2 separate regions of the Homo sapiens genome follow, and region 1 is linked to region 2. Evidence: promoter capture Hi-C in human tissues and cell types (Jung and others, 2019). All regions are on one chromosome and are shown on one strand. The core of a region is centred on a gene start or on the middle of the fragment in contact, and the rest is flanking DNA. Distances in the headings are between cores, read along the strand shown.

Evidence for each region. The method cuts DNA at HindIII sites, captures the fragments that hold promoters and counts their contacts. A contact is called where the count stands out against the background at its distance.
Region 1: a contact is called between a fragment that was not itself captured here and the fragment with the promoter of STARD5 in region 2, in 1 of the 25 tissues and cell types used here (lymphoblastoid cells).

What each region holds. Positions count from the first base shown.
Region 1 is chr15:81,147,757-81,152,918 of GRCh38, reverse strand. It overlaps CFAP161 (cilia and flagella associated protein 161), which reads right to left. Exons shown (of 7, transcript NM_173528.4): 6 at 4,988-5,061; 7 at 3,740-4,581. The coding sequence ends at 4,386. Among named protein-coding and RNA genes, the nearest start is that of CFAP161, 16 kb to the right of the region's middle. The HindIII fragment of the contact is 7,252 bases long and covers 1-5,162 here.
Region 2 is chr15:81,322,715-81,328,659 of GRCh38, reverse strand. It overlaps STARD5 (StAR related lipid transfer domain containing 5), which reads left to right and starts at 4,519. Exons shown (of 6, transcript NM_181900.3): 1 at 4,519-4,659; 2 at 5,712-5,761. The coding sequence starts at 4,561. TMC3-AS1 (TMC3 antisense RNA 1) reads right to left here and starts at 4,327. Exons shown (of 7, transcript NR_120365.1): 1 at 4,099-4,327. RefSeq lists a silencer at 3,978-4,027. The HindIII fragment of the contact is 12,739 bases long and covers 1-5,945 here.

The DNA.
Region 1 (5,162 bases), core at 1,495-3,994, 170 kb after region 2:
CAGGATGCTCTCCACAATTTGTGATTGTGCACCCTTCCCAATAAGCAATCCTTTTGGGTATTTGCTACACACATACATTTATATGTAATTCTATTAATAAATTTTACTCATGCCCATTAAGCTAAAATGTCATGTACATTTAAAAACATTTTGTCTCAAAAAAAGAAAAAAAACTAATATTTTGTCAATTTTACACAATGAAGTGTAAAAATAAAAAGATAAACTTTTTTAAAGGTAAAAAATAAAAACTATTTTGGATCGTATAAAGCACACACACATTAATGCACTTTAAAGGATAAAATAATGATATACGCAGAGTTCTAAACTCTTCTTTTCACATCTCAATGAGCATCTCTGTGCCCCACACTGGAGGTCGCTGCAGAGGTGCTGTGTGCCAAAGTCACTGTACACAGGTCCATACAGCGGCTGCATCCTGGAGAGCCAGTCTCCCCCTGCCAATATTCTAAGTTTCCATCAAAGTCCAGCTCAGATGCTAAAAGCAGATTATTAATATATCTGGAAGTCATGTTAGAGACCACATATTCTAATCTCTATAGGACACAAAAAAAGGAAAGAAAGAAAAGGAAGGAGAGAGAGAGAGAGAGAGAGATAAATACCCATTTTACAGCATCCTTTATAAATGGCAAATAAAAAACAGCTAGAAGTAGGTCTAGACTATTGGTCCTTAAATAGCAGACCCCTCCCAGGGACATTTAGCAATGTTTAGAGACGCTTTGTGTTGTCATGAGTGGAGGGGTGCTACTTCATCTAGTGAGCAGAGGCCAGGGATGCTGGCAAACATCTTATAATGCACAGGAAAGCAACCACAACAAAGAATTAGAAAAAAAATTAGATTAGAAGGCCCTTGTCCAGAAGAAGGGATAGAAGAATCTGACTTGGTCCTGCCCCAGCTCTGCTGTTTAGGAGCTGTGTCCCTGAACAAATCTCTAAGCCTGGCTCCTCTGTAAAAGTTACGGATCCATTCATCTGTTGATTCATTCATTCATTCACTTAACAGATATTTCCCAGGAAATGGAGATAAACAGCAAAGAACAAGACCTGGTCTAACCCCAGAGAGTAGTGAAAATTAAATAAGAAAATGAGTATAAAAGCCCTTTATAATTTTGAGGTGCACAACAGACCCAAGGTAGAAATACTGATTTGTAAATAACACGAGGTGATGCATGTAGGTGCTCACTTTCTAGTTATTTATTGTCTTTCTTCTATTCTGAGAAGTACAGACTTCTCTTTTCCATCTTTTAACGTCTCTGAACTCTGTCTGTGTACATTAAAATGAAGTGCTTCACAATCACCGTCAGCCAGGCGGCAGTCACGCCCCCAGCAGTCACTGTAGTCAGTCACTGATTACCTGAGTGCGAACTTGGTCGGTGGCACTAATTCCTGGTTACACTAAAACTGAGACAGAATAGGGAGTTAGGGTAACCAAGGGTTAAGGCATGGGCTCAGCAACATGGACTTCCACTCACCAAGGCTGACCTGGCTACAGGTCAAGTGCCCAATTTACCAGCAGCAGTGACCAACACTGAGCCCTTGATATGGCACCAGTCCTTGGTTCTAGGCAAGATTAGGCAGCATAGAGGCCACAACCTCACTCCTGTGATAACAAGACAACAAGTTTCTACTTCAGCCTCTAATTGGCTGCGGGCAGTCTCCACTTCCGCCTCTGATTGGTCATGGGCCAAGTCTCCACTTCAGCCTCTGATTGGTCGTGGGCCAATTATTCATAAGGTGTAACCCTCCACAGGGCACCAAGGGGTGTTACCAAAATTCTTCTAGCTTAGTTTAAACCCTAACAAACATTGTAATCGGGGCTCTTGAGCCTCTTGCCCAAGCCTGCTTGTGCTTTATAGAGTGTACTTTCACTTAAATAAATCTGTGCTTGTATTGCTTATGGCGTTGCTTCATTCTTTTGTCACTTTGTGCATTTTGTGTTGCTCTGTTTGTGCACTTTGTTCAATTCTTTGTTCAACGTGCCAAAAACCTGGAAAACTCATAGTCAAGACTTTCCATCTGGTGGAAACCTCTCGGTGTTCAGTCAAGAAGCCATTGGAGGATCACTTAGGAAAGGATCAAGAGCCCTGATGTTGTCTGAAGCTTTCCGTGGATATCTTACGGTAGGAGCAAGAATGCACTGAAATTGGTTTAGATGCTTTCAGGTGGCTCACACTGTTAAAGAATGTCTTTCCCCAGCTGAAGCCCAAACCCACCTGGTCTCACCCCTTGGAGACACACAGGCAGACCTAACTCTCAGCTAAGCCAGAGGTTCTCAACCCAGACTGCACATTAAAATAAATTAGCAAGTTTTACATCACATGTTCTCACTTATTTGTGGGATCTAAAAATCAAAACGATTGAACTCATGGACATAGAGAGTAGAAGGATGGTTACCACAGGCTGGAAAGGGTACTAGGGACCTGAGAGGGAGGTGGGGTTGGTTAATTGGCACAAAAAAGAATAGTTACAAGGAATGAATAAGACCTACTATTTGATAGCACAACAGGTGACTATAGTCAATAACTTAATTGTACATTTAAAAATAACTAAAAGAGTGTAATTGAATTGTTTGTAACACACAGGATAAATGCTTGAGGGAACAGATACCCCATTCTCCATAATGTGATTATTTCACATTGCATGCCTGTATCAAAACATCTCATGGCTAGGTGCGGTGGCTCACGTCTGTAATCCCAGCACTTTGGGAGGTGGGTGGATTACCTGAGGTCAGGAGTTCGAGACCAGCCTGACCAACATGGAGAAATCTCATCTCTACTAAAACTACAAAATTAGCCAGGCGTGGTGGTGCATGCCTATAATCCCAGCTACTCGGGAGGCTGAGGCAGAAGAATCGCTTGAACCCAGGAGGCGGAGGTTGTGTTGAGCGGAGATAGTGCCATTGCACTCCACCCTGGGCAACAAGAGCAAAACCCCATCTCAAAAAAAAAAAAAATAAAATAAAAATCTCATGTACCGCATAATATATACACCTACTACGTACCCACAAAAATTAAAAATTAAAAATGTTTTTAAAATTTTTAATTAAATTTAAATCAAATAAATTAGTGAGTTTTTAAAAATACGAATACCTGGGTTCCACTTCAAATAAAATAAGAAGCTCTGGGGTGGGCCCAAGCATCTGTATTTTTTTAATGTCCTACCCTAGAAATGCTGATTGAATGGTCCAGAGTGCAGCCTGGGCCGCGGGCTTTTCAGTATTCTTCAGGAGATTCTAATGTGCAGCCAGAGAGACTTGCTGAGGAAAGCCTCCTCTGACCACCCTAAGGAACCACTGCTTCCTCCTCCACCTCCTAACACAGTGGGTCTTCGCTGTGGCTGCACATGGGAACCATCTAAAGAACACTGACAAAGCCCAGTGCCCAGGCTGTACCCCAGACCATTCAATCAGAATTTCTGGGCTCAGACCAGGAATCAGTAATTGTTACAGTTCCCAGAGTGAATGCAACGCATAGCCAAGGCTGGAACCACTGCCCTAAATCCTGCAGTACTTGATGGAAAATGCTTGCCTTCTTGAAGAGGGTCAGTCTGCATTGACTGAAACTGCATCTATTTAAAACACATTTACAGCCCATGTTCTACCTCTCAGTATACATATTTGTGAACCGGCCTGTTTACCTGTATCTATAAGACTTGGAAACCCTACATCCCTTTATAATACCCTACACATCACAGGCACTCAATGAGGAATGAACAGATGAACAAATACATGGAAGGACATACATTTATTTTGTCAGGAACTATCTAATCACATGGGTGCCACAACTAATGTGCCAGTTTCAAAGACAAGGTAGAGATTCTGCAGCTTAAAAATCATTACAAAATAATAGGTTACTGATCAGGTAGAGGTCCTGACCTGGAAAGCCAAAGGTAGAAACAAAAATAGGATGTTTTACAAAGGTGGAAATGTTTAATTCCAAGGTAAGGCCACAGCTCAGAGCTGTCAGTTTTTTGTGTTTTAGTACATTCAAGAGGGAAACTGTGGTACCAAAAATTCAGTATAGGTCCAACAGCTTTATTACATAGACATAACTTTAAAAAGTAACGCACTGTCCTTGTAGACAATGAAGGATATAAGTAGAGGAAGCTGAGTTCTTCAGAATTTGTTTATCAACAAAAGGCTATTGTTTGTCACTTTCAAATACTAATTATTCTCCAGAGCTGTTTTTCTTCAGCCCTAGACTCCCACCACAAATTCAATAATCTTAATGTAATCTTTATTTTAATATAGTGCCCAGAGAGTCCCACATCTGATTCAAAAATAGCTTGAGGCATGACCAAGGTTGTTAATTTCTTTTAAAGCTACATTTGATGAGAGCGGGACCAGGGAAAACATGCACGTGCCTGGCGTGTTACTGCGTGTCAAGGCCCATGGCCTGCTCCATGGCTCGAGTGTCCTCTGTGGGTGGTTTGGGCAGATCCAACATGGAGGACGAGGCATCCCTGGGATTCCCAGTAACCAACATCCAGTGGTTCCTTGGTTTCTCAACTCTATGTGAATCCAGGTATGTGTGAGCTACAACCTCAGCCTCCTTTCCAAAATAGGTGCTGGAGCAAGAGAGAATCAGTTGTGGTTTGAAATTGAATAACAACTCTCAATAAGCTGTTATTAATAATTTAATCTCGAAAGCACCTTAAGAAGCGGATTGCTAGATAAAGCCCTAGGGAATCTCTAAAATGGGACATGTTTGCAGGGAGGTTACACCTTATTTGGGCAAAGATTAGGCCAGTAGGATCCCATTAGAACCAAAGTCCTCTTGTAGGGGTAGGATTTGTATAAAAGAAGGGGCTCTAATAGGATTTTTCACACCATTGAAGTTCTATGTGGCGGTATTTCATCAGCAAAGGACATTTTTTGTATGTGCAGCCATACACTATCAATTGAGCTTCTTTGCTTATATTCATGGCCCCCAGCCCCAATCACAGCATTTTGTTGTACCCTGAAATACAATACCTTAAGAAAAGATGCCGGTGGGCTGCCAGTCCCCGATTTGTGTGACAGTGATTGATGAGAATTTTAGCATTTGCCTTAACAGATAAAGAAAATGTGTTATTAGCATTCTAAACATTTTTTTTTTTGCTTTTAGGGAAAAGCTTACCTAAAAGCAAAAATTTGGGATTATACTATA
Region 2 (5,945 bases), core at 3,270-5,769:
TAAGCCATTTTGTTACTATTAATAATAAAGAAAATATTACAGATACGGTCAAAGCCTACTCTAATCCTTACACAAAGTCTCATTCCCTTCACACTAGCAAGAGTTTGGAGTACATCCATTGGTCAATTGTTTATAGTTTTATATGTTGTATGTGTGAGTATATACGTATAAGCATCCATAAACAATGTGTAAGCACATCTTAAGTAAAGAGTATTATACTGCATGTATTAATGCACATACTTATATTTTTAGCTCTAGCAAAAAATAGATCAAACTCATAACTGTAGCAAAGTATTTCATCACATGAATAAACTACATAATATCGATCCTTTTTTTTACTGATGGACATTGTAATCATTTCTACTTCTTTGCTGCTGAAAATAATGTTGCACTAAACATCTTTTATATGTCTGTCTTGATGTATCTTTTTGGCACACACACGTGCCAGTGTTTACTTAGAAGTGAATATCGGTCCTCCTAAAAGAGAAATCCCTAGCTCATAAGAGAGGAGCATGTTCATTTTCACTAGCAGCTCCTTTATTAGTCCTCACGAGTCCAGACGTCTGTGCACACTTCCTCTAGAGCATGAGAGGGCCATTTTCTTATAGCCTCACCAATGCCTGATACTGTCACACTATATCATTTTTGCCAATCTGATGAAAAAATTATACCAACTTATTTTAATTAATTTGTATTTCTTATTGTTATCATCTCTCCCTAAGTCAACTGGCCATTTGCATTTCCTCTTCTGTGAACCGATTGCCTATTCAACACCTTTGTTCATTTTTCTGTGGACATCAACCATCATCGCTGTGAAAAGGAGCTCATAAAGCTCCTGACAAAAGCATCACATGCTAGTCAGTTATCCCTTTCCCTTCCCTGAACTCTAGCCCTTGTCTAAGTTGCAGCAACAGAAAGCTAAAAACGCACTCTGTCAAAAATGCCTTTGCATAACTGTGGTTTCACCACATTGCTTTGTATTTTAGTAACAGTCCATGGGGGTGTACATTTCTGCCTTTGGTCAAACTATTATTGAGGACATGATCCACAGCATTATTAAAATCTCTCCTAAAACACCTACATAACAAACTCCTCTCAAGTCTCAAAGATCAGACTGTTATATCCATTAAAGAGTGAATTCCTTTTGATAAGAGTAGTTCAGTAAATATCTTGGTAACCTCAGATTGCTTCCTTTAGTCACTCCTTTTGTCTCAGAATTCATGAGCTCCAGGAAACTTAGAGCAAAGTTTTCTGCACATCTCTAAAAGACTAACTTCCCTAGCCTAAGGTAGTATCTTCCAGCTACTCTGTGTGTGTGTTTTCCTTCTTTTTAGGGTTTGCAGGTTGTTGTTTTCTTTTATCTTTGCACGTTTCACACTTAACACTACATATGCTCATAGGATGTAGTAGACAGCAAAGCATATGAGTAAACATTTGGCCTTTGGAAATAGAAATCGTATGTTTGCCACAGCTCTGCCACTTCCCAGCTATGTGGCCTTGGATACCCTACATGATCTTCACTTTCTTAACTTGCAAAATGGGAGTAGTAGTCTCTATCTCATGGTGCTGCGGTATTGTTAAGTTAAATGGCCCAAAACAGGTAAAGTGCTTAGGATAGTGGCTAGCAAGAAGTAAGTGCTGAGTAACGATTAGCTATTGCTGAGTAAGCAATAAACATACCGACGTGCTTACATTTGTAGATTCACATAGCACCTGCCCAAGCTAACTTAGTAAATATGCATGCAATTCTTCATCAGTGTCTAAGTGGAAAGCAGATACTCCACTCTATTCAGGGCCTTGTAAGACTGGAGCATGTGGACACTTGGGCCCATCCCCTCTATAGTCTGTCTAGTGGTGGTGTTGAGTTAGAAGCTACTGGGCTACCTGCTCCCATATACACCTATTAATTGTATTCACCTGGGACTTTGATGAAGTCTGGTGGACAACTGGGTGACTCAGAGCCCTCTCAGGACCTTGTGGGAAGGGCTCTGATCAGTGGAATCTCCAGAGCTCAGTCATTCCTCCATCCCCTTCAGCTCCAAACTGCAGCCTCAGACAGACTACAAAATAGATTTCTGTCCCAGGCCCCTGGCAAACACTGTGTGGGCAGCTCTCACCTTCCCTCTGTTCCAATCATCTGCTCACTCTGCCCTGTGCCGGCCTCCGGTGATAAAATAAATGAGTGTTCTGCTTGAAGGCTGCCCTGACCTCACCAATCTCCTACTTCCAGTTTGTCACAGGCCTCGGGGACAGTTTGCTTCTCCAAATATTTTGTATATCCAGACGTTCCCATTTCCTAGGAGCAAAATAGTGCTACTATAGTCCTGCAGGGGGTCTACTCCATCCCCACTTTCCACCATCTGGGCTAGGTTATTTTGATGGCTACATAATATTCCACTAAGTGGATGTTCTATAACTTTGGTTAATATACTGGTAAATAGGTTACTTCCAGTTGCAAGATTAATTTTATGCATCTTTGTGCAGGAAGAGTCACTGGATCAAAGAACAAGTAGAGTAAAATTTTAATATATGTTGTTATTCTGTTCCCAGGAGGTTGCATACATTTGTACTCTCATCCGCTGTGTAACAACTATTTCTCCATACCCTCACCAACACAGGGTATAAACAAACTTCATGTTTGTCCATCAATAGGTTTTAAGAAAAGCCTCTCCTTGCTTTAATTTTTAATTCCCTAACAATGAGTGAGGTTCTGCATCTTTTTATAGCTTTGTTAGCCATGTCAATTAATTTTTCCACAAAGTATCTTTCCATGTCTAATGCATTCTTTTTGTTTATGGGGTTGTCTGAAAATTGCTTAATGATTTGTATGAGCCCTTGGTTCGATAAGAAAACTTATGTGTTAAAGTGTGTCCCGATTTTTTTCTCATATTATCTAACTTTTTATGAAATTTTGATGTGCTTAATTTTTTAATGGGATTAATTTACTAGTCTTTTCTTTTATGGGTCCTAAGAGTATTTACATGCGTTACTTCCCTCTCTCTTCACAAGGGCATAGGGAACATTTATTTGTTTGTTTGTTTATTTTTATTACTTTTTGAGACAGGATCTTGCTCTGCAGCCCAGGCTGGAGTGCAGTGGCGCGATCACGGTTCACTGCTGCCTCTGCCTCCCGGGTTGAAGCGATCCTCCCACCTCAGCCCCCCCAAGTAGCTGGGATTACAGCCCCGCGCCACCATGCCCGGCTAATTTTTGAATTTTTAGTAGAGACGGAGTCTCGCCATGCTGCTCAGGCTGGTCTCGAACTCCTAGGTTCAAGTGATCTCCTGCCTCAGCCTCCCAAAGTGCTGGGATTACAGGCGTGAGCCACCGGACCCCGCCAGGAACATTTATGATGTATCCCATTTCACCTTGGAGTAAACTGAAGCTCAAAGAATAATGAGTGAAACTGGGTTTAGATCTTGAGCTCCCTAATTCCCCATCCAGGTCTTCTTCACAGCCTGGCTGCCCTTCACATCTTCCAAAAAGGTCTTTCAAGTTGTCAATTTGTTTACACTACTCTTCCAAACATTTATATCGAAAGTTTAAAGGAAACAATAAGTACATAAAAAAGAAAGATAAGAAATAGACCTCAGTATTAACCTTTTCAAATATTTAGTTGGTGATAGCGCAGAAGAGGGGAAACCGAGGCTGTCCTTGCCATTCACGCTGTGAAGATGCGACCCTGGCTCACTCCCCGCAGCTCCAGGGCAGCTGGAAGCAGAGAACTCCCATATCTCTAATAAAGCCGGGCCTCTCGCAGATGTCAGCGCATTGCATTGACTCCTGGACACCTGCACTAAAGGCCCTTCAGGCACCTCCAACTAAATATGCCCAGAACTGAACTCACCCTATCTCTTCTCCATCTCAGGTAAGCTGCCAGGTGGCCAAGGCTGGGAGTCATGATGCTTTCTCCTTCTGAACATCCACAATCGGGGGCAGAGACCTTCACCTTCCATCTCCTAAACACTCTACGATGGGTCCTCTTCTCTTCACCCCCACTCCCCGCACCCCTGCCACACACCTCTCCCACCATTGCACGCGCCCAGTCTCCACGCGCATTTCCTCTCCCACCCTGCAGCAGCCGCCCTAGCATATTACCTCTAATGCAAATCGCACCACTGTCCCGCAGGCTGAAAGCCTCGGTGCACTCAGGACAAGAGTCCACGCTTCTTAAACAAACGGTCGACGTTGTCCGCGACCTGGCCCGGCCCAACGGGTCAGACCGTCATTGGCCATCTCACAGTCCCGGCGCTCCAGAGCCCCTCCCACAGCGGGACATGAAGGAGGCGGATACGGCTGGACCTTACCCGGCCCGCCCAAGGCGTCCGGGACCCGCCCAGGCGCTGACGCTAACTGGAGAGCCTGGCCCCGCGGTCTCCTTGTCCTGCCAATCTCCGGGAGGCGGGATCCGTCTGAGGGCCTGGACCAATTCGGGAGCGGGGGCGCGGAAAGAGGCGGGGCTACGAGCTCCTCCCAGAGCTCCAGCCTCCAGGCACCCGGGATCCAGCGCCGCCGCTCATAACACCCGCGACCCCGCAGCTAAGCGCAGCTCCCGACGCAATGGACCCGGCGCTGGCAGCCCAGATGAGCGAGGCTGTGGCCGAGAAGATGCTCCAGTACCGGCGGGACACAGCAGGCTGGAAGATTTGCCGGGAAGGCGTGAGTGAGGAGCTGGGCGGGAAGGGGTCGCGGAGACGGCTTCGTGGAGCCCGGGTCCCCAGAAGCCCCCAAGCGCCTCCTCTCCCCGTTGTTTTCTGCTCCCCAATCCCCTGGACCCGATTGAGAGGGATTCCAATGGGGATTGTTTTCTTCTTTAAAAAAAAGATTGGGCCTGTTATGCTCACAATGACTTCAGGTGGTAAGTATCTGTTCCTTTCACTCAGTGACTTGCCCAAGGTCACCTGGCTGTTGAATGCTGTTTAGGACTGGATGTTTCTGTGACAGTGGTAAAAGTAAATAAATTGCATTTAAGGGGTAAGCAGGTGTTTAAAAACAAAACAAAATGAAAGAATGTGGTCGCAGCTAAGGAGGTTTTTACATGTTGTTTAAATCCAGTAAAGTCTGATCCAGCATCTGATGCATACTAAGGTTTTCTTCTGTGTTCATTACAGCATGAACCCCTCTCTTTGTCGTTGCCAGAGGGTAGCATGGGAGTAGTTTTGCTTGACCCTTCTGACTTTTCATTACAGCATGAACCCCTCTCTTTGTCGTTGCCAGAGGGTAACATGGGAGTAGTTTTGCTTGACCCTTCTGACTTTTCATTACAGCATGAACCCCTCTCTTTGTCGTTGCCAGAGGGTAGCATGGGAGTAGTTTTGCTTGACCCTTCTGACTTTTCATTACAGCATGAACCCCTCTCTTTGTCGTTGCCAGAGGGTAGCATGGGAGTAGTTTTGCTTGACCCTTCTGACTTTTCATTAAGTAGCCCTGGGTTGCTCAAGGAAACAGAATGCCTGGTGGCTTTTAAGATAATTTTAAAAACCACCCACGGCTCTTGGAGTCAGCCAGTTAAGATCTTTTTCTTCATCACATTCTGCTGTGGGGACAGCTTTGCCCAAGACTAGTCCCAGCTTTTCCACGTATGGGTTGCACAGCCTTGGAGAGTCGTATCTCTTGAGGCCTCTTACCCCTCTTCTGTAGAACAGGGGATTAAGCCAGGTGACCAGAGCCCTTCTAGCTCTAAAATTCTGTGGTTCTGTGCCTTTTGACAGAATGGAGTTTCAGTTTCCTGGAGGCCATCTGTGGAGTTTCCAGGGAACCTGTAAGTGCATGCCTCGTTCAAAGATTACCAGAGGTGCCGCACCCTTCCTGGTATCTTTATGGGCCTGCCTCCTAAAATATTCAAATCAACCCTATAACCTGTGATCACTTGTCCTCCAGAAAAGCCTTACTGTTTTTAATGAAATCATTTCCAGCAAACTGTATTCTTGTGAAAGCTTACTGTC